7 separate regions of the Homo sapiens genome follow, and regions 1, 2, 3, 5, 6 and 7 are each linked to region 4. Evidence: promoter capture Hi-C in 16 types of primary human blood cells and fetal thymus (Javierre and others, 2016). All regions are on one chromosome and are shown on one strand. Each heading gives the region's core, a stretch centred on a gene start or on the middle of the fragment in contact. The rest is flanking DNA. Distances are from core to core; before and after follow the strand shown. Region 1 overlaps SYN3 (synapsin III). Region 2 overlaps SLC5A1 (solute carrier family 5 member 1). Region 3 overlaps SLC5A1 (solute carrier family 5 member 1). Region 4 holds the start of FBXO7 (F-box protein 7). Region 5 overlaps SYN3 (synapsin III). Region 6 overlaps SLC5A1 (solute carrier family 5 member 1). Region 7 overlaps SLC5A1 (solute carrier family 5 member 1).

Region 1 (3,892 bases), core at 782-3,281, 490 kb before region 4:
AGGGGAAGTGACTTAGCACACACGTGAAATTATTGTTGGAGTCCAAAGTGTGGAGAGCACTAGCTTTCATCTCCTGGGTCCCTGCTTTTCACACTGCATTTCTCCCCCTGCCCATGCCATCTTTTGTTTTTCCCTTTTAAGAAGCCATTAGTCCCTTCTGATGGTTTTAATAGCAAGCAAAAAAATAGCAAAAACAAATGAAGTTTATGTTTTTCACGTTTACCTGTGAGAAGCCTTCTTCTTGGGAGGAGCCTAGGATAGAGTGCTGAACCATAGCTGATAGCCAAAGGAGAGCTCCAAGCAGCGAGGGCTGGGGAATGCTGAAACCAAGGTTGAATGAGCCCCGCTGATTCTGAACACAACATGGACTGTGTTGCCCGTTGCATGACCCTTTAGACTCTCCTCTTCTTTTCTGCTGGAGGAGAGTACAGCATCCTGGTTTGGTGGCACCATTCAGCACCTGCACTGGAGATGAGAAGGAAGGAGGCATGGGAGTCAAAGGGAGTCCATCCTCTTGCACTGGGAAACCCAGCTCAGTTCCTTGGCCTTTAGCTGCTGTGTTTGGAAATTCACCTTTCCTTACTGCCACACCACTTCATCAGCATCAGCACGGCCCCCTGTTAGTACCATTGATAAATGAGACTCCAGTGGAAATTAAGTGGACATTCTGAAGGAGAACTTAGTAAGCCCTTTCACTTCTTGAAGGATGTGTAACAAAACAAACAGAGCTTGTCTTATCTGAACCTGTTCCTTCATTCAAGAAGCACTCACCGAGCACCTGCTCTGTACTTTGTCCTAATGACAGAGCCCTCCACACTCAAAGGGTTCTTTATCTGGTGGGAAGATAGACATTGAAGGCAGTGGCCAAAATGTGTTGCGACGAGGATCTCTCTATCGTAGAGATTTGTCTAACCTTGGGATGTTCTCAGGAAAGACCTCACAGAGAACCTGATGTGCAGCTGGGTTTGGGGACAAGAATTAGGTGAGGGTGAGTGGGCAGATGTGCACATTGGGCCTTCTAGCTAAAGAGCATGATTCAAGTCTCAGCTTGTCACGTACAGGGCAAATGACCAGGGTATGCCATGCATGAGAAGGGTTGGTGGGAGACGAAGCTGACAAAGAAGGTGGAGGGCAGTCTATTCAGGGTGGGCTATTAGTGCAAGGCATGCAACTAAGAATTGTGTCCTAGAGGCAGGATGTATGTATTGAACTTTTTAAGCCATGGAGTGCTGTGACCGTGATTTCATTTTAGAATGCACAGGCTGACAGTGGTCTTAGAAGATTCGCTGGATAGGAATGGTGGCTTGAGACTGGAGGCAGAAAAGCTCAGCTCTGGATTTGGTGCAAAAGTCATCTCATCCTTGAATATGATGCTTGGGTAGGAGGCACATGGAAGGGACTTCATAAGTGTTAAGTGAATGCATGTACATCCTCGCCACTGTGTTCCTTAACCACTTGAGCCATTCTCATACCTGTAATTCGTATTTGAAACTGGAGGAGAAGAGATGACCTATTTTTCTTAAGACTGAGAGGATGGAGTCAGACCCACATGATGTGTTTCAGCTGGCATTTCTTGAAAGCGAGCCATTGCCAACCTCCTCTTGTTCACCACCTTAGTCCAGCCACTTGGACTAAGCCGTTTCACACTGCACATGTCAACTTGCTCCCAATCTGCCTAATCCCCAGCCTTGTGATTCCTTCATCTGTTGATGATCTCCCTCCCCATGCGCTACTGCCCCTGGTTACACCACTTCTCCAGCGTGGCCTTCAGCTTTTGTGTGGCTACTCTACATTTTCTGCCAGCTCTGCTGTTGTCTGTACCATTTGGGGTCTGGCCCACTCCCTGATGAGAGGAGCCCCCACTGGGCTCACCCCAGCCCTGCCAGCAGCCTCTGCCCGGATGTGCTTACACAGTGGATTTGAGCCTTTGCATTTCAGTGGGAATCAAGGGTTATTAATTAACCTAGGGTGGAACCTATTATGAAACATCCCAGAAAACTGGAATGAACCAAAGGGACTTCTGAACTCACAGCAGGGAAAAATGCCTTTTAATTGACTTGGATGACTTCACTGCAAAAATCTGTCTGGCTGTTATGCTAAACTGGAAACTAATCTATTAGATTGTCTAAGGAATCTCCCAGCCCACTCTAAGCAGAGTCTCCTGAGGAGGGGAGTGAGCTGACATATCAACAGGACTTAGGCATTGAAATGACTTCCTTTGGATCATACACAGTCTGGGCGCATTTTCTAGTCCCTCAGGAAGGAGCTGGGAGGCTGATAGCAGAGAACGAGTTTATGTGCCCTACAATGTCTATCTTTAGTATCACATAGGATTTTAGTAGTTCTAAGGCACTATTTACTTTACAATAGAATTCAACCTAAACTGGACCCGTTTTGGTCCAGTCTTGGCCCCCTCATCTCAGGGAGTTTTAGAGGGTGACCTGAGAGAGTTTCCACTGGCGGTGCCTGAGGCAGATGGCAGCTGTACAGCCTGGGCTCTGAAGGAATTAATGATCATAGGCAGTATCTAATCACATGCTTACTAAGTGTCAGGCACACGCTAAGCATTTCATATGGATTAGCGTGTTTCATCCTCATCATGACTCTGATGAACAGGTACTATGAGTTCCCCCATTCTCCAGATGAGGAACCTGAGGCTTACCCAAGGCCACACAGCATACAAGTGGCAGAACTGGAATTCAGAGTCAGTTTAACTGAAGAATCTGTGTTTATGGTTCTTTTTATTTTATTTTATTATTTTTTGAGACAGGTTTCACTCTGTCACACAGGCTGGAGTGCAGTGGTGTAGTCATGGCTCACTGCAGCCTCAACCTCCTGGGCTCAAGCCATCCTCTCACCTCAGCCTCCTGGGTAGCCGCGATGACAGGTGCGCACCACAACACCTGGCTAATTTTTAAAATATTTTGTAGAGACAGGGTCTCACTGTATTGCCCAGACTGGTCTCAAACTCCTGTGCTCAAGTGGTCCCCACAGCTTGGCCTCCCAAAGTGCTGACATTACAGGTGTGAGCCACCATGCCCTGCCTGTTTATGGTTCTTAATCTTTATGCTGGCTCATCTGGGAAGGTGTATCCTGAAGCAGTAAAATCCAGGGAAGGCTTGGTCACTTTCCTCTCATGCATAAAGGGCTGACCTGTGCATTAGACTTGTTTTGGGGGTCTCAAGCTCTGCACACAAGGCCCTCCATGAGCTTGCCCCTGCCTGCCTTTCCTTGCTCATCTCCTCCCGTGCTCTACCTTAGACTTCGGTCTCACCAAACTGCTGTGGTTCCCCAGTGCCCACCCATGGTAATACCATCTTGGAGTCACATCTCCATGCCTTTGCTTATGCACGTCTCTCCTCCTGGGACATCCTTTCTTAGATTTTGCCATAGATTCTTCAACATTAGCTCCAACATGATGTCTGTGCTGCTTCCTCTGCCCTCCCCCTCCATCCAGGCAGGGTGAGGTGCCTCTTCCCTGTACTCCCCTAGCACCTCATACCTGTGTCTACATCACACTTCCCAGATGACTTTGAGATTACTAATTCACCTGCCCCTCGCTCCCTGTAGACTCTGGGCTCATTGGGAACAGGGACAGTATCTTTATTCATTCCACAAATATTCATTGACTGCCTATGTGCTGCGTGCTCAGGTTACAATGGTGATTAAAAACAGATGGAATCTGGCCGGGCGCGGTGGCCCGTGCCTGTAATCCCAGCACTTTGGGAGGCCAAGGCGGGCAGATCACAAGGTCAGGAGATCGAGACCACCTTGGCTAACACAGCGAAACCCCGTCTCTACTAAAAATACAAAAAATTAGCCGGGTGTGGTGGCGGGCGCCTGTAGTCCCAGCTACTCGGGAGGCTGAGGCAGGAGAATGGCGCGAACCCGG
Region 2 (3,878 bases), core at 245-2,744, 360 kb after region 4:
ATGGTTCAAAAGGTAAAGGGATGGCTTGTTCTCATGGAAGGAAGGAAATCCACAGAGCACTATTTGTAGTGCCTTCTCAGTCTCCTGAAGCGAGGCAGAGGAGAGGGAAAAGTGGAGAATTTCACTTGGCTGGCGTTCCCTAGAGGACTGGATCTGACATGAAGCTTGTGTTATGTTTTGAGTTTTGAGAGGCTAAAGGGAAAGGAAGAAAAGCCACTGGATGGGTGGACAGTGGAAAATGTCTAGACTGTCCTGGATTCGGTTTCTGGTTTTGCCAGTGATTTGCTGTGTATATTTTGGCAAATTATTTAGTCTCAACTGTGTATTTTGTTTTTTTGAAAAATGAGGACCTTGGTGCTTGTAGCATCTACCTACCTCCTGTCGTTGTGATGAGGACACTTTGAAAACGGGATGGGAGCTACATATGCAAAAGATGCCATACAGATGCTATATTAACCTGCATTATAGTCCCACAAATTAAAATGTATTCCTTTGATAAAAATAAAAACATTAAAACCCCATAACATCCTGATTCCCTGTTCTCCAGAGATTCTGGACAAATACTAAATATATCTATGGTGAGCTTAGTTGGCACAAGATATGGGTCAGGAAGCAGGAGGCCAGGATAGTTGATAATTGGATCTAGCAACTTGAACAATTTTTAAAATATAGGTAAGTTTAGAGATTATTTCAACTGCAGAGCCACTAGTAAACATGAGGTGAGTAACTCTGCCTGTACAAAGCCCCGTTAGAATAGACTGAGCTACTTAGGGTGAGCAAATGATAAATTATGCTACAATAATTTCAGGGGCACTATTCATTTCCCCAAATTGAAGATGGTATTCTAGGCCGGGCGCAGTGGCTCACTCCTGTAATCCCAGCACTTTGGGAGGCTGAGGCGGGTGGATCATGACTTCAGGAGATTGAGACCATCCTGGCTAACACGGTGAAACTCCGTCTCTACTAAAAATATGAAAAATTAGCCAGGCGTGGTGGCACATGCCTGTAATCCCAGCTACTTGGGAGGCTGAGGCAGAAGAATCGCTTGAACCCGGGAGGCGGAGGTTGCAGTGAGCGGAGATCAGGTCACTGTACTCCAGCCTGGGCAACAGAGCAAGACTTAGTCTCAAAAAAAAAAAAAAAAAAAAAAGAAGATGGTATTCTCTATGGGGTTGAATGACTGCCTATCTGTCCTCAATTTATAGAACTGAAAAATCATGCCTTATCAGGCAGAAAAAACTTCTTTAAATATAGATGCCTATTTCAAAAGGAATCTTTCAAAATGCAAAGCCTGGCCTCTGTCCCTACAGAGTGAAGTTGGTCCTGGGGCCTTTGACCTACCTGAGAGCACTACTTTGCTTGTGTGTAGCTGTGCCCGGCATTGCTGTTCCCTCAGTGACATTCCTTCTTTGGAACTCACTGGAACGCACTCTTACCTAGTGCTGAAGTCACCATCTTCTAAAAGAGGTGCTGCAGCTTGTGTTTTCTTGTCCTTCTTCACAAAAGTGAACCTCGAGAGAAAAGCATAAGTGAGCTTGCCTGGATGAAAGGGGTTTCTTAACATCCTTCCTATCCTGTCCAAAGAAAATCTCACCTAACCTCCAAATTGTAATTTGATGGATGAAGTTGTTTCAGTGAGGTGGCATTGTCTTGGTAGTTTGGTGGGGATGGGATTAGGGAGGTGTGGATGAGGTCAGTGGGGCCGGTGTTGTGTGACTGGCTCCAAGGGACTCAGGTAAGTACAATTCAGCCCCAGAGCCCCATGTTGCATCCTTAACCCAGCCAGCTTTTGAAGTCCTGAGAGCCACTCAGTGAAAGAACAGGCAATTTAATACCATGTATCCCATGCTTGGAAAACTGGTAGCAAAAACCCATCTGATAAAGGGACCTTCTTCACACAAGAGTGCTGGCAGCTCACGCACATGCAGTTCAGAACCAGACCAAGGGCTGCTTAGAGTAGTGATTCTCCAGCTATAGCTTGCATCAGAACCCCTGGAGGGCTTGTTGAAACACAGATTTTTGGGATGCACCCCCTCCCCTGACATTTCTGATTTTGTAGGTCTGGAATAGGGCCTGAGAACGTGCGTTTCTAACAAGTTCCCAGATGATTTTGCGGCTGCTGGTCTGAAGATCACATTTTGAAAACCACTATTTAGAGTTAACTTCTAAAGGGGCTTCATTTCCTCACCAACACTGGAAGAATGGAGAAACCTTTTCCCCAGTTCCTCCTTTGAGATTTGTAGAGCTGTGTTAGGACCGAAAGCCTTTTCTGAAATCAAAGGTGTGTAGGTATGGCTGAGGTACATTACAGCACCCAGGGAAAGAAAACTCTGACCCCATTGACTTTTAGGGCCCATCTGCTTAATTCTGGCCCCTCCTCTACGTGTCCAGTGCCTGTCACTTTTTTTGGAAATTATTTTTATTTTTTAAATTCACAAATAATAATTATATATACTCATGGCATACAACATATTTTTATATATGTACATATTGTGAAATGACTAAATTAAGGTAATTAACATCTATTACTGCACATATTTTTTTGTGGTAGAACACTCACACTACTCTCAGCAATTTTCAAGTATATGTTATATTGCTATTAACTATAATTGATACATTGTACAATTGATTTTCTGAACTTATTCCACCTAACTAAACCTTTGTATCATTTGACCAACATCTCCCCAGTCCCTCCCTCCCCCAGCCCTTGATAACCATCATTCTACTCTCTGCTTCTGAGTTTGACTTTTTAAGATTCTACATATCAGTGAGATCATGTGGTATTTGTCTTTCTGGGGCAAGGCCTGATATTTTACAAGCTTGACTTTTGTGTTTGGTACTCATTAAATAGTTTATATGCACAACTCCCCACCCACACTGGTTCTCAAAGTCAGTCTCACAGGTGTAATATTTTTTCAGGCAGTAGGGTGAGGGGGAAAGCAGTAATGTTTATTGGGCATTTTCTACGGACCGGGCCTTTTAAGCAGTATCAATTGACCTCACCTAATCTTTACAACAGCTCTGTGAAGTCTGCATTATGCTTGGAGGAACCTGAGGTTCAGAGAGTTTTAGGGACTCAGCCAAGGTGAGGAACTTGGTGGTCATGGTGTAGGGGTTGACAGTCCCTCCTCCCTGCTGCAGAATGTCCCAAAGCAGCCTTCTAACAGTGATACAACATCTCTCCTTCAATTCTGAAGACCCTGGAATGGGGATGGGATGTAGACAAGTTAGAAGACCAACACCTATTGAGCACCTACTTATTTAAATAAATGTTATACTGATAAATGCTGTCAATGTATAACATTTAAATCTGTGAGCCAGGCATTTATGTCTCTGTTTTCAGATGAAAAATGAAGGTTCAAGGACATTGATCACGTTGCTCGGGGTATATCTGTACTCTGAGCCTTCTCCTCAGGTTGGTCTAGGTGGATATCTTCTCCTGACCAAAAACTGATAGGAGTCAAATATTTTCACGGTCAAAGCAGCTTCTGCTTTTCTACCAAGGCTCTTCCAAAACTTCTGGGAATGGATAACGATGTTTTCTGGTTCTACTTCACCCTGAGCACAAGGGAACCTGGTCCTTGAATGAACCTGCACTCAAAAAATCAAACTAAACACCGGATAGTTTAGATTGGCATAAATGCAAATCAGAGTGTTGGGCTTTGCTTGTATTTGCTGACATGCTATAGTACCAGAGTCAAGGTGCCAGGGTCCTGGGAGCAACAAATGCATTCCCATTGATTTATTGTTGAAAAACCCTCTGATCAGCCTACCCAAAGGCCCTGCCCTACCCTGCCTTGCCTCACCTACATACGTTCAGTTTGTAATTCTTTTTCCTTTTGCTGCACAATAACTGCTTCCGTTTACCTTTTTCACGG
Region 3 (4,065 bases), core at 1,247-3,746, 420 kb after region 4:
AGGGTCACTCACTCAAAGCACCTGATCTAAATATACCATCTTGGCCGGGTGCAGTGGCTCACACCTGTAATCCCAGCACTTTGGGAGGCCAAGGTGGGCAGATCACATGAGGCCAGGAGTTCAAGACCAGCCCGGCCAACATGGTGAAACCCTGTCTCTACTAAAAATACAAAAAAATTAGCCAGGCTTGGTAGCACAAGCCTGTAATCCTAGCTACTAGGGAGGCTGAGGCAGGAGAATTGCTTGAACCTGGAAGGTGGAGGTTACAGTGAGTCAAGATTGCACCACTGCACTCCAGACTGGGCAACAGAGTGAGACCCTGTCTCAAATAAATAAATAAATAAATAAATATACCATCTGTACCCCACACTGGCCCCCTTTCAGTTTTTCAAATATCCCAAGCTTCTTCCTACATCAGGGCCTTTGGCCATTCTGTTCCTTCCACTTGGGTTACTCATCCCAGAATCTTCACATGGCTGGCTCCTTCTGATCATTCAAATCTCAACCTGAATGCTCAATCCTCAGAAAGGCCCTCTTTGAGCCTATGTTGAATAAGGAAGACCCTTCTCCCTCCCACTGAACCTCACCCTTGACTCAAATACACTTTCTTCTGAGCACTTAACTATTATTGATAATTTTACGTATATTTTGTAAGAATGTGAGGGACATAAACACACACATGCACATGGATATATCAGCACCTACATGGCATCTGGCACATAGTAGGTATCAACATGCAGTTGTGGAATGAGAGAATACTACTACATAAATAGATGAATGATTCAATTCACAGCTTAAGGAGGAGAAGCTGGAGATGAGAAACAATTACTATTTTATTTTTTTTTAGATGGAATCTTGCTCTGTTGCCCAAGCTGGAGTGCAATGGTGCGATCTCAGCTCACTGCAACCTCCATCTCCTGGGTTCAAGCAATTCTCCTACCTCAGCCTCCCAAGTAGCTGGGATTACAGGCACCTGCCACCACGCCCAGCTAATTTTGGTATTTTTAGTAGAGACGGGGTTTCATCATGTTGGCCAGCTGGTCTTGAACTCCCAATCCAGGCGATCTGCCTGCCTCGGCCTGCCAAAGTGCTGGGATTACTGGTGTGAGCCACCGCACCCGGCTGAGAAACAATTATAATGATGATAATCATGATAGGCATCCCTTGGACAGCATTAACTATATAGTGTCCTAAGAGATTTACATGTATTAACTAATTTAATCCCAGATATATTTCTAATATGAATAATACAACGAATTCATTTTAACTGATAGTTTCACCACCTTTCTGCCTCTTCCGACTTCTACCAACCAGAAATACGGATTACAAAAAATGGTATTTTTTTTCTGTCTACAGAAGCACTAATCTGTTAGAAAATTCTGGGAAGGCAGCCAGTGAGAAAGGAGAAGCCAGATGCTTAGGTACTAACTAGATGGCAGGGACTTGGTTACACATCAATCAATTGATGCCTAGAAACACCAAGAATACATGGAGTGGTGAGTGGTTGTGTATTAATCAGAGAAGCTACTTAGAGGAGAGACTAAGCTATGAAGAATGGGAGGGAAGTGATTCCACCAAAAAAAGAGAAGGATGAAGGGGAGAGAAAGAGGAAAAGAGAAGAGAGGGGAAAGAGAAGGAAGAAAGGGAAGGAGGGAAAGAATGAGGAGAAGGAGGAGAATAAAAAGGAGGAAGAGAAGGTGGAGGAATAGGAAAAGGAGAATGAGTAATAGGAAGAGAAGAAAAGGGAGGAAAAATAAGAAGGAGGAAGAAGAAAGAGCAAAGCAGACACTGCTGTGATAACCCAAAAGCTCCCACCCAAAATATACCAATGGGGAACTACCAAGTTTTGCAAAACCTCGACTCAGACCGAGAAAACAAATGGCCTGAGAGTGAGGAAACATAGCCACACCAAACTTTACCAAGGAGTCCAGTGTGGGCTGAAATTGGGAACTCTGATTAAGGCTTCCTTTTCCAGTTTTACTCCCATGAGCCTAAACAACAACAATTTTTCTCTATGCATAAAAACAGAAATTTGGAGCACTGCTGGAGGCAGGCTTTGACTTAGACCCAGCACCCTTCTAACCTCCTGAATTCTTACCACTGTCTATACTGTGTGGCCCCTGCACCAGAGGCCAGAATATAGACTCAGGTCTCAGGTGACACCACTAAGGGGGACCAGCATGAGGTTCTGGGGACATGTCCCTCTTCTCCCTCATTTCTCTTTAATTCAGCCCATATTTGTCAAGTGCCTTCTTGCAGTGCAAGGCCTTGGTGTTGTGAGGCCAAAAAAAAAAAATTAAGAAAAGCGTAGGCCTAGCTCTCATCACAGGGCACTGGGATAAGTAAGAGCACATGCAGGTAAAAAGCAAGTAGAGCAGGGAGAGAGGGCCAAATGGACCTGGGCCAGAAGAGGTAGGAATTGTTTCCCCCAGGCTTATGAAGAGTCAAGTACTTATCTTTCCTTCTCACTTCTTCCTGGAGTGCATCCCTGCCTCTCTCATGTCCAGTTGCCTGGTTCCCTCTCTTCCTCTCCAATTCATGAGCTCCCCACCCATGTGTTGGGACTACCAGGTTTTTCTAAGACACCCTTTGGCCCCTCTGGTGACATCATAAGTGGCTGGACTTTGACCTGATCATTAGGTTTTAGAAACATAACGATAAAATCAGATATATTTTACCCAAGAGGACTTGAAAAGTTTGAGAACCTGTCCTCTTTCTTCAGGGAAAATTTTCATCAGGGTCTCTGGTCGGCCCCAAATGAAATAATTTCTTGGTTTTCAGACCAATCTTTAGGCCACACCAATTGGCCTCATAAATTTCCATCTCAAAAGACAAGGAGAAAGAGACCTGAATAACCAGAAGATCAGAGGAAGTCTTAGCTCTGTCATTATCTTGTGTAAACGTGGGCAACCCATGGGGTTAATCATCATCTTCACTCTACTTACCTCACTAGATCATTGAGGATTCAATCAGATAAGTGATATGACAGTCCTTCAATAGGTTTCAGTTGCAAAGAAGAACAAGAGCTAAACCTGAGGGTTTAATGTGTGCCAGGCTCTGTTCTGAGACTGTCTGTGTGTGTCCTCAAAACAAGAAATCTGGCCCTCCACCTATTTTTGCAAATAAAGTCAGCCACATCCATTCATTCATCCATTTTCCTTGGATGTTTTTGTGTTACAACAGCAGAGTGGAATAGTTGTGACAGAGATTGCATAGCAGCAAAGCTAGAAATATTTAGAATCTGGCCCTTTACAGAAAAAGTTTGTCAACTATTTTGTTGTTGTTTTGTTGTTGTTGGGTTTGGGATTTTTGTTGTTGTTGTTTTTGTTTTTTGGGGTTTTTGTTGTTGTTGTTGTTGTTTGAAACAGGGTCTCACTCTGTCCCCCAGGCTGGAAGGCAGTAATGCAATCATGGCTCACTGTAGCCTTCACCTTCCCAGATCAAGCGATCCTCCCACCTCAGCCTTCCAAGTAGCTAGGACTACAGGTGCACACCACCACGCCCAGCTAGTTTTTAATTTTTCTGTAGAGATAAGATCTTGCTATGTTGCCCAGGCTGGTCTTGAACTCCTGAGCTCAAGCAATTCTCTCACTTCTGCCTCCCAAAATGCCTGGATTACAGGTGTGAGTCACTGTGCCTAGCTGAAACTTAGAATTTTAGTCCTGGAAGAGCCTTTGAGATTCCTTATCTGACCAGCTCCACATTATAGAGGAGACTCTCAGAGACTCAGAGATTAATGAATTGCCCAATGTCACAAAGCTGGAACAAGCCAAATCCTGTGGCTCCTTGTGCAGTTCCCACTCCCTGCCCTTTGGAATGCTTCTTTCTGAATCTAAGGGAGCTGATCCCATGGAGCTGGCTCTGCCAGTAGTCCTGGTAGGTGTGATCAAACTCTCTTCCAAAACAAGAGTCTCTCACTGGGCTGTGTACCTGGGGCCTCACTTCTCTGTGTAATTTCTGCTGCCAATATCCAAAGAGTGGGGAATTCCCCTTCGAAGCTCAGCCCCTGAGCTTCACAGCTTTCCTACCATCACATCTCCGCACAGACAGCTGTGAGTGAAACGT
Region 4 (4,206 bases), core at 568-3,067:
GATATTTTTAAAATAATATCACATGGACATATTTTAAAACTGCACCTTTATTAGAAAATGAGTATACTTTCAGAAAAAATGAGTTTACTTTCACAAGCTGAAGCTTAAATTCTGTCCAGGTAACCAGCCTCAACTGTAAAAAGAAATCTGAAAGAGAAACCAACGTGCCCTTTTGGGCAGTCATATTGAGTTTCACGTCCTTTCAAGACTGCCTAATTTAAAAATAATAAAATATATATATACTTGGTAATACCTTTAAAAAATAAGTTTGAAGATTTATTCAATCTTCTACTCGTAACCTACTGGTAACGATGCCAGTATGTAAAACACACAGGTTTAACAACAAGAAATAACAGTAGGCATGTCACTTACTATAATGTTTAAAAGGAGTTATGTCAGTATCTTATTTAGGGTTTTTTTTTTAATCAGGAAGAAAACAGGCTTACTTTCAATCTAATAATGTCTTAACCAGGAAAATGAAAGGGCGAGAAGTTCAGAATAACGGCCTCATTTTACCCAATTCCCTAAAAATAAGGTGAAAACGTAGGAAGGTTTGCTTTTGTTTTGAAGAATTCACCTAAAAATCCCCAGGGAACATCTTTTTCATTTTTCCTTAGCACACTCAAGTTTCAAATTCACTAGCTCAGTATTTGAAGAGGACCACTCTTACCTTGCCGCTTTACTCCCAAATTATTGTCCCCAAAAAGTATCTTTTAGGGAAACAAAGCAGCTTCACCTGCAGTCCCACAAACCAATAACAGAATATGATCCTTTCTCAACTTTACTGCCCCCAAACTGCAAGCTCTCAAGATCAACGTTTGCCTCAGTTTTAGCAAAAAAGCAACATTTCACCCAAGAAAATGAAATGGTCTGAAACACGCCTACACGCTGTCCTTTCTAAAACTTTTCGGCGGCGAAGTCCAAGCGCTCACCGCGGTGCTCGGCGCATGAACACAACAGAATCTAAAATTGTTGCCGCTTCACAGCAGCGATACAAGCTACCGGTGGCCTCGGATTGAGGGCAGATTTTTAACTTCTAGCAATTTCCAAACTTTTTCATTGAAATACTCCAACAGCTGAAGAAATTAACTCGGACCCCTCACAGTCCAGAAAGGTTTAACCCAAGCCAAGCTCATCATTTCCAACTTGAAATCTAACCAGTTGTGGAAATTGTGCGTTCCCTCCTCTCCCTGGTTCCGTTTACTGCAAAACCAGAAGCCATGACTCACCGAGGAGGGGACCAGAGCCCCCGGGAGGCCGGGCCATGTTCTCCAGGAGCCGGACCCCAGCCGACCACCCGCGCTTCCCGTCGCCTGCACCCTCCGGCTCCGCGACGCCCGGAAGAGCCCGGGCCTCCCGTGAAGGCCCCCCCGGCGTCCCCGCACTTGGCCTATCGCCCGGCCACGCCCGCGCCTGCAGCCCACAGATGACGCCAACCCGCCCTGCACCCACCCCAAGCACTCCCCACTCCCCGCGGGCCGCCCAGCCCCGGCCCCAGCGTACCTGTACCCCCAGGTGCACAGCAGGGACTGCCTCAGGTGCGAGCGCAAATGCCCCAGCGTCGGCTCCGTCTCGGGCACCTCCAGCGGCCAGGTCCGCTTCAGAAGCCGCACCCGCAGCCTCATGACGGCGGCAGGCGGCCCGAGGGGCCTGGACCCGGAAGCGGCGACGGGGACGGCGGCGGGGCCGAGCAGCTCCCGCCCCAAACGGCGACGACCCCGGACTGGCGACTACCGGAGCTGAGGGGTAGCTGAGGCGAAACGGGGAAAGAGCCCCGCCACAGTGGCCGCCCTGCCACTCGGTCTCTGGAATAGAGCGCCCGCCCCTCTCCTGAGGGCGCCTCCTGGAGCCGACCCCGAGAGCTGGAGGCGGGCAGGCGGCCTAAAGGAACCGGGCCTCTCGGGGTCGGCCGATCGATGACTCCGCGCGCAACGGCGCTGCCTGAGAGCGCGGGCACAGTGCGCAGGCGCCGAGATGCGGCCGCTCGCTGGCATCCCAGATTTTCCGCGGCGGTGGCTGGGACTCCCAGTACTTACTCCCTGTGTGCGTGGAACAACGGTAGCGCTGATAGGGATGCTGCAGACAGACAATACAGTCGCCACTCCCCAGGACCAAGTGTCACCCCCTTTCTTCCGTGGCCCTCAGTTCCAGCGGCATCTGCTCTGAGAAGCCTTAGGTTAATCCTTAGGTTGGCCGGGCGCGGTGGCTCACGCCTGTAATCCCAGCACTTTGGGAGGCCGAGGCGGGTGGATCGTTTGAGCCCAGGAGTTCGAGACCAGCCTGGGCAACATGGTGAAACCCCCCCCCCCATCTCTACAAAAAATACAAAAAATTAGGTGTGGTGGCGCCTGCCTGTAGTCCCAGCTAGTTGGGTGGCTGAGGCGGGAGGGTCGATTGAGCCCGGAGGTCGAGGCCTCAATGAGCTGTGATCGCACCACTGCACCTCAGCCTGGTTCCACAGAACGAGACCCTGTCTCAAAAAAAAAGTAGAACTATTTGTAGCCAGTAATCTATGTCCGACAGTTTATTAGAACTCTGTGGCTGCATAACAATCACCCCAAAGTTTAACGCAATAAACATTTGTTGTCCCACAGGTTTTAGAGGTAAAGGGATTTGGGGATGCGTGGCTGGGTGGTTCTGTCTCCAGGTCTCCCATGAGATTACAAACTGTAGGCCAGGGCAGCAGTTATTGACTAGGGCTGGAGGATCGGCCTCCAGGATGGCACAGTCATGACTGTTGGCCAGAGACCTGTTTTCACCACGTGAACCTCCCCATAGGGCTGTTTGAGTGTCCCCATGACATGGCAGCTGGCTTCCTTCAGAGCAGGTGATCCCAGAGAGACCAAGGTATAAGCCACAATGTCTTTTATGACCTAGCTCCAGAGGTCACATACGGCTTTTGTCATATTTACAAACCAACCCTATGTGTGAGAGGATCCAGCCAAAGGTATGAATGCCAACAGACAGGGATCGCTGCGGGCCATCCTGGAGGCTGGCTACCATAGAGGGTCTAACTAATGATAACTTAGATGAGAGAGAGTATCAAGTTTCGTCCTTGTGTGATAACCATAGTCCAAATCCTTAGAGTCAAATAAAGTTTCTCCCAATAGGTGGCAGCACTTGTCCACATCCTGCCCTTGATTCTGCAAATAAATATGTATTGATTGCCTACTTTGTGACAGATACCCCACATGCTGGAGACTCAAGAGACCAAAAAGACATGTTTCTGCCCATGCAAAGTTTACAGTTGAGTGAATCAGCTCTTTCAGTAGAGTGTAAAAAGTCTCTGCTTTATGATAGACATAAATACAGACCTGAGGAATGGGATTGTTAGAAATGTTTGTTTTTTGATGTTGTAAAGAAATAGCACTTGAATATAAATTTAATTTTTTTAGCAAGGCCATTTTTATTTTTTGTAGAAAGGGTATACTCGCCAGCAGTTTTGTCACGAGAGTACACCGAACAAAGGAGACAGGGTCATATATAACCTGATGTGTCCACTTTACTGCTGTGTCTGGTTTTTTGTTTGTTTTTGTTTTTTTTTGTTGTTGTTGTTGTTTGAGATGGAGTCGCGCTCTGTCGCCCAGGCTGGAGTGCAGTGGCGTGATCTCGGCTCACTGCAAGCTCCGCCTCCTGGGTTCACGCCATTCTCCTGCCTCAGCCTCCCGAGTAGCTGGGACTACAGGCACCCGCCACCACACCTGGCTAATTTTTGTATTATTATTATTATTATTATTATTATTATTATTATTATTATTTTATTATTATTTTAGTGGAGATGGGGTTTCACCGTGTTAGCCAGGATGGTCTCGATCTCCTGACCTGATCCGCCCGCCTCGGCCTCCCAAAGTGCTGGGATTACAGGCGTGAGCCACCGCGCCTGGCCTGTGTCTGGTTTTTATTGGCTGGAATGGGACTTTATATTTTGTATTTGTCTTGATTGGCTAGTAATTTAGAACTTTTTAAAAGAGGCAAAGGCAGAGGAGAACAAAGCAAGGAGGAAGTAACTTGTGGAATGTTGAGAAAGGTCAACACCCCTTTAAGGAAGAGGAATAGGCTATGACTTAATGTTTGTTTGAACTAGTATAAATATGTTAGGGCAAATATTTAGGCTAAATTGTGGGAGTTAAGATTGTAAAGTACATTGATTTTTTTATTATGGCTAGCAGATATTTAAGAATGTTAGCATGGGTGTTTGAATACATT
Region 5 (3,947 bases), core at 661-3,160, 430 kb before region 4:
TAAATCCTGGTGAGCATTAGAACTATCTGATGAGCTTGGCTAAATGCAGGTTCCTGTTCCCCACTCCAGGGGATCTTGATTCATTGTGTTTGAGGCCCAAGAATCCCCTTTTTCAACATGCTAAGTGAGCTGTGTTGCAGAGGGTCCCAGGAGCACACACTGAGAAATGCCAGATCGTTGTTTGCAGGGAAAGACGTTTCTCTCTTCCAGGTCGTGCGCCTTCCTGAGAACAACCAGACCAGCTACTTCCTGCCGCTTTTCTTCCCTCTGTGTCCTTGGAGGGGATCTGCTTCCAGGTGGGGTCAGTTAGTTTCAGCTGCTCCTAGGTCTTTCCCATGGGCCTCTAGCTGTGCAAACCTTGGAATTTTTGTACCAGAGTTTCCCAGTTAGAATATCCAGGGCTCTGCCAATGATACCAAACCTGCTGCACCTCTCTGTGAATGTCCGACCTCTCTGCCATGGGATGCCCTGCAAGCTGAGGTTTCCTCAGGATACCTGACTGTGATTCATGAATGAAAGGGCACGAACCCTTAGAGGGGGTGCCAGTATCTCTTCTTCAAGACCCGGGGAAGTTAGTGCAGCTTGAATCTCAGGCCAGAGCTGCCCATATAGGAGGGCAGAGGCAGAGTGCAGGGAATACAGGCTCTTGCAGCCACACAGACCTGCTTCAAACCCTGTGGCTCTGGTACTTATCAGCTATGTGGGAGCCTTGGATAAGTGACTTACTGACCATGTGCCTCCTAAGCTCCACTTCTTTAACCAGATAGAATCATGCCCTCCTGGCAATGCGCCTGTGAGAATCAAATGCAGTGTGAAAGCAAAACACCCAGCCAGTGTCTGGCGCACAGCAAGTGCTCAGAGCGTAACTGTGTCTGCAGTCAGGAATTTGAGGCAGGGTGGAGGGTGGCAACCAAGGTAGGTCTCTTTCCCTCTGTCCCCCTTTGTCTTCCTGACCATGCAGACTCTTTGCCTTATGCTCTGGGACATTTATTGGTTCCCTAAGTGTGGTTTTTGTCCTCCCACCTAGATTGCAGGCTCAGTGAAGTTGCAAGTTAGAGTAATACTGTGTACCACTTTGCCACTCCCCTAAAGTTTATTGAATAGAAACTTTGGAGGAAACAACTGAAGGTGGGCAATTCCAGTTTCTCTATTATTTTCCCCAAAATACCTTATTTGTATCCTCCTTCATTTCAATGACTAAGTGAAATAATGTGGGACAGTGTCTGACTCATACAAAATATTGCTTTTTTGTGAGAGTATAGCAAATTCGAGCTCGCAAGAGACTCTTTAGTTCACTTAATTCCACCCTGTGGTTTTATAGATGAGAAAACTGAAGCTCAGAGAGGGGAAGGGGCTTGCAATTGGGGGTTCTCATCTGAACCACAGAACACAAAAGCACATAATGATGACTATTTTCACAGTTCTCTGAGGGACGGTATATAATTTGTACCATTATCCATGGACAGGAGGGAAGTTAATTCATTGCATGCAAAGAATGCCTTACAACACTGACACTTTATTGTCTACCAGGACAATTGCGAAGGGCTGAGCAAATGATACCAGAGCTGTGGCTAGCCCAGACATCTTACCCCACCTGAAAGCTTCCCACAGTGGACAAGAGTCCACAGTCCAAGTGTTGCGTGGAGTGGAAGGAAGAAACTGTCCCATTACTTGTTCAAATGCTTTATAAAATCCCAAGACTCTATATGCATAAGGAGATTTTTCTGCCTGTTTGGAAGATGGTCGAAAAAACTGTCACATGTACAAGCAAAATGCCTCTAAAACCCCAATTCTGCTTTTACTGTGTATATTAGGGCAGGCTATCTGTTATGAAAAAAAAAAACAAAAAACTTGGTGGTCTAACACAAAAGAAGCCTAGGTCTCACTCAATCAAGAGTAGAGTGTGGCATTCAGCAGACGACCTTCTTCAGAGTTCCTCAGGAATCCAACCAGGCGCCTTCCATCTTGTGACTCCACCATCGCTAGGTACTCAGAGCCCTCTGCAGACTCTCTGCATCTGCTAGCCAAGGGAGGAGGAGAGGATAGACTGCTTGGAAAGATTTTTATGGGCCAGGCCTCGCAGAGCCATATTGCAGTATCACTAGCATTCCATTCATCCCATTGGCCAGAACTCTGTCACATGCCCACACTCAACCACAAGGCCTGCTGGGAAATGTAGTCCAGATGGGGATACCCAGGTGGAAAAGGAAACAAGCTTGGCCAAATATCTCTGCCATAATTTATAACTTTAAACAAGTCTCATTTATTACCCACCTTTAAAGCAAGGAAATGAGGCCTGCTTACATCATAGACTTGTGCCAAGGATTAAGAGAAATAATGTCTGTTGTGGTGCTCTGAGGCAGTAAATACAGGTGAACTACTATTATTATTAATTTCACCACCTCCTGAAATGTATGTACTACTATGTACTGGGCCTGGCCCGGGGCCCAATACATAGTAGGTGCAAAACAAACCATTGTGCAGTTGATGGTCTTCCCACCAGCCTCCTGAATGCATGCTTTGCTCCAGCTAGCTGGCATTTGGTTCACACACACATCTTTTTGACAAGTCACCCATTGTCGTCAGTCATTGCCGATTGCCCCTGCCAGCTATGAGCTGGAACACAGGAAGGGTTTTATCTGAAGCCTGAGACATCCTGAAAGGATGAAGCCTCCCTTCTTGGGTACCTGGAAGGCTGCCCATTGCACCTCACATTCTTTACAGCCTGGAGGCCGATGGTAACCATGAGCTCTGTGAGGGGCTACAGCAGCCAGCTATGGAGGCTGCTGCTGATGTGCGAAGCGCATGGCTTGTGGCCTGGAGAGCTCAATTCTTTTCCCAAGCCCCCTCCCCCTACCCACAAGCTCTAGTGTTGCTCAGAAGGAGGAGGAAAAGGCCCCAGAACAGTTGTCAAAACTTGATCGTCAGTGGTGTGCGCAGTTCCCTGTACTATATATAAGTAGGTGTTTTGAATGTTTAAGACATAGAACTTGTTAGATGGGTATTTTTTAAAAAAACGAATGTGTAAAACAAAGATCACCTCACAGGTCATAACAGCTTGCACTTACATAATGTTTACTATGTGCCAGGCATGTTAATTAATTTAGTCTTCAAAACAACCCTATGAGATGAAGAGATAATTATAGCAATTTTAGGGTAGAGAAAATTGGGGCACCAAACATTCACTGGTCTTACTCAAGGTCAGTCACAGGAGTGTACCTTTAGTCAGAGCATGGACTCTATAGCTCACCAGAGTCCCCACCACTCCCTAATGTATCCCAGACATAGGGGCTGAGCATCAATTATCATTTCTCTGTACTCGAAAAACAGTAGAGAGCGTGTTTTTTAAGACTGTGATTCTGAATCCAAACCACCGTAGTTTAAATTCTGGCACTGTCACATTTTAGCCATGTAAACTGGGAAAGTTATTAACTGCTCTAAACCTCAGTGTCCTCCTCAGTAAAATACATCCAGGACCACCAACTTTTTTTTTTTTTTTTGTCTCCAGGGGTTATGCTTAATGCAGCATACTGTTTTGCAAACTCTGACTTGAGACATATTCAGATCTTCTCTATTTGCCAACAGATGTGGAAAAAGGAGCTCAGAAAGTTCCAGTAATTTTCCCATGGTCAGTGACGGTACCACATCTTCAGTTAGAACCTAGTCCCATGAACCTGCCCACGAGTCCCATCCTCCTTGCATTTGCTTGTTTTATAAAAGCCTCTATTCTCAGAAGCTGGTGTGAATGCTTTGGAGTGAACAGCTCTACCATTTATTAGCAAGGTGATCATAAGCAAGGTACAACCTGGGCCTCAATTTTCCCATCTGAAAAATAGGCTAATAAAAAACCAATGAATTTTTCACAAGATTGCAGAGATTGAATGGAGAAGGTATTTCAAATGGCTTCCTCTATCTTCAGACCTTGGAGGTATTGGCCAGTCTTGCCT
Region 6 (4,107 bases), core at 678-3,177, 380 kb after region 4:
AAGGAAAAAAGACTTAGGAATATACCTAACCAAGGACGTGAAAGACCTCTACAAGGAAAACTACAAAACACTGCTGAAAGAAATCACAGATGACACAAACAAATGGAAACACATCCCATGCTCATGGATGGGTAGAATCAATATTGTGAAAATGACCATACTGCCAAAAGCAATCTACAAATTCAATGCAATTCACATCAAAATACCACCATCATTCTTCACAGAACTAGGAAAAACAATACTCACATTCATATGGAACCAAAAAAAGAGCCCACATAGCCAAAGCAAGACTAAGCAAAAAGAACAAATCTGGAGGCATCACATTACCTGACTTCAAACTATACTATAAGGCCAGAGCCACCAAAACAGCATGGTACTGATATAAAAATAGGCACAGAGACTAATGAAACAGAATGAGAGAACCCAGAAATAAACCCAAATACTTAGAGCCAACTAATCTTTGACAAACCAAACAAAAATATAAAGTGGGGAAAGGACACCCTATTCAACAAATAGTGCTGGGATAATTGGCAAGCCACATGCAGGAGAATAAAACTGGATACTCATCTCTCACCTTATACAAAAATCAACTTGAGATAATTCAAGGACTTAAATCTAAGACCTGAAACTATAAAAATTCTAGAAGATAGCATCAGAAAAACCCTCCTAGGCATTGGCTTAGGCAAAGAGTTCACGACCAAGAACCCAAAGGCAAATGCAACAAAAACAAAGATAAATAGGTGGGACTTAACTAAAGAGCTTCTGCACAGCAAAAGGAACAGTTAGCAGAGTAAACGGGCAACCCACACAGTGGCAGAAAATCTTCACAATCTATACTTCCAACAAAGGACTAATATCCAGAATCTACAAAAAATTTCAAACAAATTAACAAGGAAAAAATAATCACCTTACTCCAAGAATGACTGTAATTTAGAAATAAAAAAAATAGATATTGGTGTGGATGTGGTGAAAAGAACACTTTTACACTGTTGGTGGGAATGTAAACTAATACAACCACTATGGAAAACAGTATGGACATTCCTTAAAGAACTAAAAGTAGAACTACCATTTGATCCAGCAATCCCACTACTGGGTATCTACCCAGAGGAAAAGAAGTCGTTATACAAAAAAGATGTTTGCACACGCAGGTTTATAGCAGCACAATTCATAATTGCAAAAATATGGAACCAGACCAAATGCCCATCAATCAACAAGTGGATAAAGAAATTATGGTGTATATATACATATGATGGAATCCTACTCAGCCATAAAAAGGAACGAATTAATGGCATTCGCAGCAACTGGATGAAACTGGAGACTATTATTCTAAGTGAAGCAATTCAGGAATGGAAAACCAAACATCATATGTTCTCACTTATAAGTGGGAGCTAAGCTATGAGGTTGCAAAGGCATAAGAATGATACAGTGGATTTTGGGGACTCACGGGAAACGGGTGGGAGGGGGGCGAGGGATAAAAGATTACAAATTGGGTTCAGTGTATAATGCTCAAGTGATGGGTGTACCAAAATCTCACAAATCACCACTAAAGAGCTTACTCATGTAACCAAATACGACCTGTTTCCCAAACATGAATGGAAATAAAAAATTTAAAAATAATAAAATAAAATAATAAGTAAATAAAGTTAAATGCCACCAAATGGCACATATAACCAGCCACAGAAATTATTCCCATTCTACCCAGGCATCTGCCAACCTTCCCTAGCTTGAGGGGTAACACAGATGGAACCTCTCTGATCATTCAAGCTTTTGTGGCTTGGGGGAAGCTGCATTTACCTTCCGGCAATCATGAGCTCTTTCTCAGATGCTCTCTTGCGGACCTTGGCGTAGATGTCCATGGTGAAGAGGGTGCTGGCGCTGTTGAAGATGGAGGTCAGGGAGCTCATGAGGGAGGCCAGCATGACTGATAGCATCAGGCCTCGCAGTCCTGGAAGAGAAGGATTTTTGAGTGGCACATAACAGCACCTTCAGCTCTTTTGTACTTGAAAAATATATGAGGACTCAAGATTTGTTTGCCTTCTGAAACCATGCCATGTTATCCAATTTCTGTCTCCAAAAAGACTAGAAGCTTTAAGAAGTAGTCCTATGGCTTTAAATTTATTAGCCCATTATAAGCCCACAGCAGCCACAAAGAGCCAGAGACACAACATACTTGAGGTGAATACTTTGCAACTGGACGATGATGAAGGTGGTGGGGTGTGTGTGTGTGTGTGTGTGTGTGTGTGTGTGTGTGTGTGTGTTTGTGTATGTGTGTTTCCATCTGAGGGGATTTTTATAAGGTCTCTCACCTGAAATATTTATGATATAACAGAAAGAGATTTAAACTATTATTCAAAAGATGGGGCTCTCAAGAAAGTAAGCCATCCACAGACTGGGAGAAAATACGTGCAAATCATGTATCTGATAAGGGTCTAATATAAGAACATATAAAGAACTCCTAAAATTCAATAATAAAATGACAACCCAATTTAAAATGCCAAAGGATCTGAATAGACACTTCTCCAAAGCCATACAAATAGCCAATAATGACATGAAAAGATGCTTGACATCAGGGGAATTCAAATCAAAGCCATAGTGGGATAATAACTTTGTACCCACTAGGATAGCTATGATAATAAATTTTTAAAAAACAGAAATAACAAGTGTGAGTGGAGATATGGAGAAATGAGGACCTTCATATATTGCTGGCAGGAATGTAAAATGGTACAGCCACTGCAGAAAATAGTCTGGGTCAGTCAGTTTTTCAGATGGTTAAACATTCAGCTACCATATTACCCATCAATTCCATTCCTAGGTGGAATTTCATTTCTCTCTACCCAAGAGAAATGAAATTCCATTCCTAGGTGGAATTTCATTTCTCTCTACCCAAGAGAAATGAAAACATATGTCCACTCAAAAACTCATACATTAATGTTTGTAATATTATTACTTGTAATACCCAAAAAGGAGGAGCAATACAAATGTCCACCAAATGATAAGTGGATAAACAAAATGCATAAGCAATTGACAAATGGGTAAACATGTGATGGAATATTATTCATCAATAAAAAGGAATGACATACAAATACATGCTAGGACACATATGAACCTTGCAAACATTATGTTAAGTAAAAGAAGCAAGTCACAAAAAAACACGTATTATATGATTCTATTTATATGAAATATCCAGAATAGGCAAATCTAGGAATACAGAAAGTATGTTAGTGGTTGCCAGGGACTGGGAGGTTGGGGTGAAATAGGGAGAGACTGCTCATTTCATTAGCAGGTATAGGATTTCTTTATGGCATGACACAAATTTTCTAAAATTTATTTCAGTGATGCTTGCACAACTCTGTGAATATACTTAAAAAACCACTGAATTGTACATTTTAAATGAGGGAATTGTAGGATAGGTGAATTTAAGCTCAATTAAGTTTTTTTGTTTTTTTTTTTTTTTTTGAAAGACAAGGCTGTATTTCTAACTCTGATCCTAAGCAAGTTACGTCAAGCTCTAGGCCTCATTTCTTGATGTGTTAAACAGGGATACCTTCCCAAATCAGTATACGGAATACTACACCTTCCCAAATAGGAATACGGAACTCTTGTTATTAAAGTTTTCTCAATTATGGCAAGCCTGGTTGGCTATAATCTCTATTATTCTTCCCATACCAAGGAGTGTACAGGGGGACACCTGCTGAGGCTAGAAGGCCAGGCCAAGCTGAGGACCCACTAACAAGAGTTTTACAGTTTCAGGAGTAAAAGTAACCTTAGGATCACCTAGACCTATCATCCATCTGATACATGAATCCCTTCCACAACATTCCTCTGCCCATCTCTATAGCAACAGGAAATCTCCTACCCTACAGGGAACCTGCCCTCAGACAGTTCTGAGTAGGCTGAAATCTACCTCTCTATAGCATCAAATGTAGTCCTCATGGTACCCAACAGAACAGGTCTTACTCCTTATCCATTTTGCCATCTTTCATATATTCAAAGATAACTCATGTTCCCTTGAACTCTCTCTTCTCTATATTCCTATCTAACTGCATTTAGGAGACCCAAATGTTTAGAACTTTACTTATACCTCTATTAAACTTCAGCTGGTTAGAT
Region 7 (4,101 bases), core at 705-3,204, 400 kb after region 4:
AACTTTCTCTGTAAAGGGCCCGGGAGTAAATGTTTTATGCTTTGCATTTACTGTCTCTGTCACACTCTGTTGTTAAAGCATAAAAGCAGCCACAGACAACACAAACAATGGGCTTGGCTGGGCTCCAGTAAAACTTTACTTACAAAAATAGATCGTGTGTTGGATTTAGCCCAGGGGTGTTGTTCCCATCACGTTGAAAATTTGGCTGAACGATGTCCATGGAATTCATGGGGAATAAAAATACAGACCCCCGTTGGAAAGCATCTGCAAGTAACTGAGTCTCTGATTGGGAGCTTGGGCATGTTGCTTCGCCTTGGCTCTGATGTTTTGAGATCCAGTGATTTTATATGTGTGTGTTTGCTGTCCATTCTGGTCGTAACCAAGATGTATTTGAGCATTCGATAAATCCTGCCTAGCCTCGCAGTTTCAGATGGTGAAGCCCCATTACTCAAATTTCTCTTTCCACTTGTGAAAGTGAGTGGCCCTGGGAATGAGCATTCAAATCTTAAGCAAAAGCAAAAGCTCTTCTTTTCACCCAAGGATCCAAAATGGACAGCAGAATTGCTGTAAACATTTACTGTAGCTGTGATCTGTGATAACAGCCCTAGGAAACACAAATGGGGACATGAACATTCAGTCATCACATGTAAGTCATAAAATCTGAGGCTTTATCTCCAGGGATTGTGCACATTTGCATAAGATGCACATGCCGGGAAATTTTACAGAATGGAATGCTTCTCAGAGCTTGATAAGGCAGGTGCTCGAGGGAGCCAATAAAATTCAGGAGCTCATGGAAGGACAATCAGTTCTGAGTCTCAGAGCCCAAAAATACGTGACCAAAAGATGGTAGCCATAGCCAACGCTCCACATCACAGCTGCCAATGGCCTGGGCCACATCTGGGCTCTGCACCTACAATGCCCTGTACTTTCTCCTCTCTCCCATTAATTACAACCCCACTGGATCCCTACATTCTCCCCAAGCCTTCGTGGCAGGTCCCTGGTTGTTCGCTCTCTGGACAGGAATCTCACACTAACCCTCCTCTCTTCTCACCCATCACAAACCATCCGTGCCCTTCCACACACACACACAATTGGTGAATCTTGGTTTGTGTGGAATATAAATGCCTTATCACCGTATTTTGTTAATGAACAGTTATTTTCTTTTGTCCATGAGCCCTGCATTCCTGTGTGTCTTGAAGTGAGCTTCTAGCAGGTACAGTTGATATCGGTGTAATTCTTTTTAAAATTTCAATGCTCTGTGACCCATGTTGAACCTAAAACCAGCCGAATTTACGAAGACAAAGCCTTGCCTGTCTGCATCCCTCCCTACCCTACCCCCTGCCCAGATGTCCCTCCTTCAGATCCTTCATATACCCAGTGTGCAGCTGATGTTCTCTCCCCATAGTCCTCTCAAATCCTACTCTTGGCAACTCATTTATATTGTGAGGTTCATTTAACTGGCTCTCTTCATTTTTCCCAGGGTCTTGAATTCTAACCTACTCTGTACTGGAAGAATGAAAGACTTAGAAGGTAGGGGGCATATAATGTCAAAAGGTTTAGATTCAGTGTCAGGAAATCTGCTTCTCATCCCAGTTCTGCTCCTGTTTAACCCCTCATAGTCCCTTCCCCTGTCTGGACCTCAGTTTCTCCATCTGTAAAATGAAAGCGCAGAACATAAGACCACATGATCTATCCCATCCCCTCATTCTATGCCTTCATCCCACCCAAGCACAGGGCAGAACACTGAGAACAGACTTTGGCACTGGAGAGACCCTGCTCCCAGTTCTGGCTTTGCCACGTACTAGCTGTGTAATTTGGGGAAATTACCTAACTTCTCTGAGACTCAGTTTTCTCTCCCATAAAATGGAAAATAAAATAAAAATCCCAGCCAGATGTGGTGGCTCACACCTGTAATCCCAGCACTTTGGGAGGTCAAGGCAAGAGGATCACTTGAGGCGAGGAGTTCAAGACCAGCCTGGGTAACATAGTGAGACCCTATCTCTAAAAAAAAAAAAAAAAAAAAAAAAGTAAAAAATAGCTGGGCATGGTGGCACATGGATGTAGTCTCAGCTACTCAGGAGGCTGAGGCAGGATGATCACTTGAGCCCACGAGTTTAAGGTTGCATTGACCCATGATCATGCCACTACACTCCAGCCTGGGCAACAGAGCAATACCCTATCTCAGTAAACAAACAAATAAATAATAGAAATCCCTACCCATGCTGTACTCTTCTGAGAACTGGAGAGGGTGTAAGTAAAACCCCTGTTGGAGACTAAATGACGAGACCAGCACTAAGTAGAGGGCAGCTATCAAACTTCTTATGTATTTGTCAAGGGATCCCTGGTCTTGGGCAATGGATGGAGTAAGTATAATGTTGGTCATGGCCTCCACTAATATCATGATTCAGCCTCCTTCACTTTCTCCTCCTTTCCTTCAGGGTTAGTTTTTAATTATAAGATAAAAGCCTGGGCTTTTCAGTCTTATTTGGTTAGAGACCAGTGTATAGAGTCTGGACTGGGAAATGCTGGGAAGGCTGGAGAAATCAGGCTTCAGCTTCCTGAGGGAGGGCAGTGCATCTGTCCAAGAAGAGAAAGGGAACGTGAGCAGGAGGGTGACGAGGGTAAGGAGCCTCAAAAATCACACAGAGAGGGAGCAGCACACAACACATACAATTCAAAAGCCAAATTTAGAAAAAGCGGGCTCCTCGGGGATGGGCTCCATCCAGATCTGAGCTGAAAGAGGCTGTCCCTCAGCTCCCTGGGGGCTCCCAAGTCCAAGAAGGTTTAATCAGTAACTTGAAAAATAGGTGAGGTGATAGAGAAGGCAGGGAGAGAGGTTGGGCACCTAATTTATTTATATGACCACCCCTGCCACCCCTGCACCAGCTCTGAGGACAAAGAGTGCTCTTACCATGGCAACTGCAGTCCACAGACTTTCACCTGCTTGAACTGTGGACTTGGAGGACACTTGCCTGGGAGAAGGGGAGGCCCAGCACCCTTCTCTACGTGCACAGTAGACAGGTACCACCCTCCTGCTCATTGCAGTGTGACCTCCTCACCCTCCTGCTCACATTCCCTTTTCTCTTCTTAGACAGACACACTGCCCTTTCTCAGGAAGCCAAAGCCCGATTTCTCTAGCCCTCCCAGCATTTTCCAGTCCAGGCTTTGCACACTGGTCTCTAATCAAATAAAATGGGAAAGCCCAGGCCTTTCATCTTATAACTAAAAACCAACCCGGGGGCCGGGCGCAGTGGCTCACACCTGTAATCCCAGCACTTTGGGAGGCCGAAGCGGGCGGATCATCTGAGGTCAGGAGTTCGAGACCAGCTTGGCCAACATGGTAAAACCCCGTCTCTACTAAAAATATACAAAAATTAGCCAGGCATGGTGGCGTGTGGCTGTAATCCCAGCTACTCAGGAGGCTGAGGCAGGAGAATCACTTGAACCCGGGAGGTGGAGGTTGCAGTGAGCCAAGATCGCGCCACAGTACTCCAGCCTGGGCAACGAGAGTGAAACTACATCTAAAAAAACAAAACAAACAAACAAAAAAAACACCAACCCTGAAGCAGAGGAGGAGAAAGTAAAGGAGGCTGAATCATGACATTAGTGGAGAAAGCACAAAGGCATGGGTCGAGGGCAGAAGCAGTGTGAGTCAGGAAGCTACACAAGGAGGCAGCACTATTCCTAGGTGTTGGCCCCAACTCCAAGACAAAACCTTAACAGCATTATCGGCAAGAGCCTGTTTTCACCAAGTTCAGTGAAAACTTACGTGCAAGACCATTCAGTGGGAAAACAATCATTTCTTCAAAAAATGGTACTGGGAGAACTGGATATCCACATGCGAAAGAATGAAGTTGGGCATGGTGGCACATGGCCATACCATATACATAAATTAACTCACAATGGATCAAAGCCCTAAATATAAGCACTAAAACTATGAAACTCTAAGGAGAAAACAAGGGGGTACATTTTCATGACCTTGGATTTGGCAGTGGATTCTTAGAAATGACACCAAAAGCATAAGCAACAAGAGATAAAATAGACAAATTGAACTTCACCAAGATTTAAAACCTTTGTGCATCAGAGGACATTATCAAGAAA

The links. The method cuts DNA at HindIII sites, captures the fragments that hold promoters and counts their contacts. A CHiCAGO score of 5 or more calls a contact.
Region 1: a fragment that was not itself captured here is called in contact with the fragment with the promoter of FBXO7 in region 4 in 1 of 17 cell types (M1 macrophages); the score reaches 5.8 in M1 macrophages.
Region 2: a contact is called between a fragment that was not itself captured here and the fragment with the promoter of FBXO7 in region 4, in 8 of 17 cell types (M1 macrophages, naive CD4 T cells, M2 macrophages and 5 more). The highest score is 8.5, in M1 macrophages.
Region 3: a contact is called between a fragment that was not itself captured here and the fragment with the promoter of FBXO7 in region 4, in 2 of 17 cell types (M0 macrophages and M1 macrophages). The highest score is 6.9, in M0 macrophages.
Region 5: a fragment that was not itself captured here is called in contact with the fragment with the promoter of FBXO7 in region 4 in 1 of 17 cell types (erythroblasts); the score reaches 5.2 in erythroblasts.
Region 6: a contact is called between a fragment that was not itself captured here and the fragment with the promoter of FBXO7 in region 4, in 5 of 17 cell types (M0 macrophages, M1 macrophages, total CD4 T cells and 2 more). The highest score is 8.6, in M0 macrophages.
Region 7: a contact is called between a fragment that was not itself captured here and the fragment with the promoter of FBXO7 in region 4, in 5 of 17 cell types (total CD4 T cells, M0 macrophages, M2 macrophages and 2 more). The highest score is 7.0, in total CD4 T cells.

What each region holds. Positions count from the first base shown.
Region 1 is chr22:32,965,786-32,969,677 of GRCh38, reverse strand. All of the region lies in intron 3 of SYN3 (synapsin III), which reads left to right. Among named protein-coding and RNA genes, the nearest start is that of SYN3, 91 kb to the left of the region's middle. The HindIII fragment of the contact is 4,613 bases long and covers 1-3,892 here.
Region 2 is chr22:32,111,553-32,115,430 of GRCh38, reverse strand. It overlaps SLC5A1 (solute carrier family 5 member 1), which reads right to left. Exons shown (of 15, transcript NM_000343.4): 15 at 2,402-3,878. The region is part of intron 2 of LOC105373000 (a long non-coding RNA gene); the gene reads left to right. Among named protein-coding and RNA genes, the nearest start is that of C22orf42, 46 kb to the left of the region's middle. The HindIII fragment of the contact is 2,655 bases long and covers 167-2,821 here.
Region 3 is chr22:32,050,952-32,055,016 of GRCh38, reverse strand. All of the region lies in intron 2 of SLC5A1 (solute carrier family 5 member 1), which reads right to left. Among named protein-coding and RNA genes, the nearest start is that of SLC5A1, 9.7 kb to the right of the region's middle. The HindIII fragment of the contact is 4,183 bases long and covers 405-4,065 here.
Region 4 is chr22:32,472,422-32,476,627 of GRCh38, reverse strand. FBXO7 (F-box protein 7) reads right to left here and starts at 1,817. Exons shown (of 9, transcript NM_012179.4): 1 at 1,504-1,817. The coding sequence starts at 1,625. RefSeq lists enhancers at 1,301-1,470, 1,056-1,556, 1,725-1,894, 1,557-2,057, 2,783-2,842 and silencers at 1,227-1,536, 1,547-1,736. The HindIII fragment of the contact is 4,456 bases long and covers 106-4,206 here.
Region 5 is chr22:32,902,425-32,906,371 of GRCh38, reverse strand. The region is part of intron 4 of SYN3 (synapsin III); the gene reads left to right. Among named protein-coding and RNA genes, the nearest start is that of TIMP3, 100 kb to the right of the region's middle. The HindIII fragment of the contact is 614 bases long and covers 1,604-2,217 here.
Region 6 is chr22:32,089,450-32,093,556 of GRCh38, reverse strand. SLC5A1 (solute carrier family 5 member 1) reads right to left here. Exons shown (of 15, transcript NM_000343.4): 11 at 1,795-1,945. Among named protein-coding and RNA genes, the nearest start is that of SLC5A1, 48 kb to the right of the region's middle. The HindIII fragment of the contact is 322 bases long and covers 1,767-2,088 here.
Region 7 is chr22:32,072,997-32,077,097 of GRCh38, reverse strand. All of the region lies in intron 5 of SLC5A1 (solute carrier family 5 member 1), which reads right to left. Among named protein-coding and RNA genes, the nearest start is that of SLC5A1, 32 kb to the right of the region's middle. The HindIII fragment of the contact is 8,214 bases long and covers 1-4,101 here.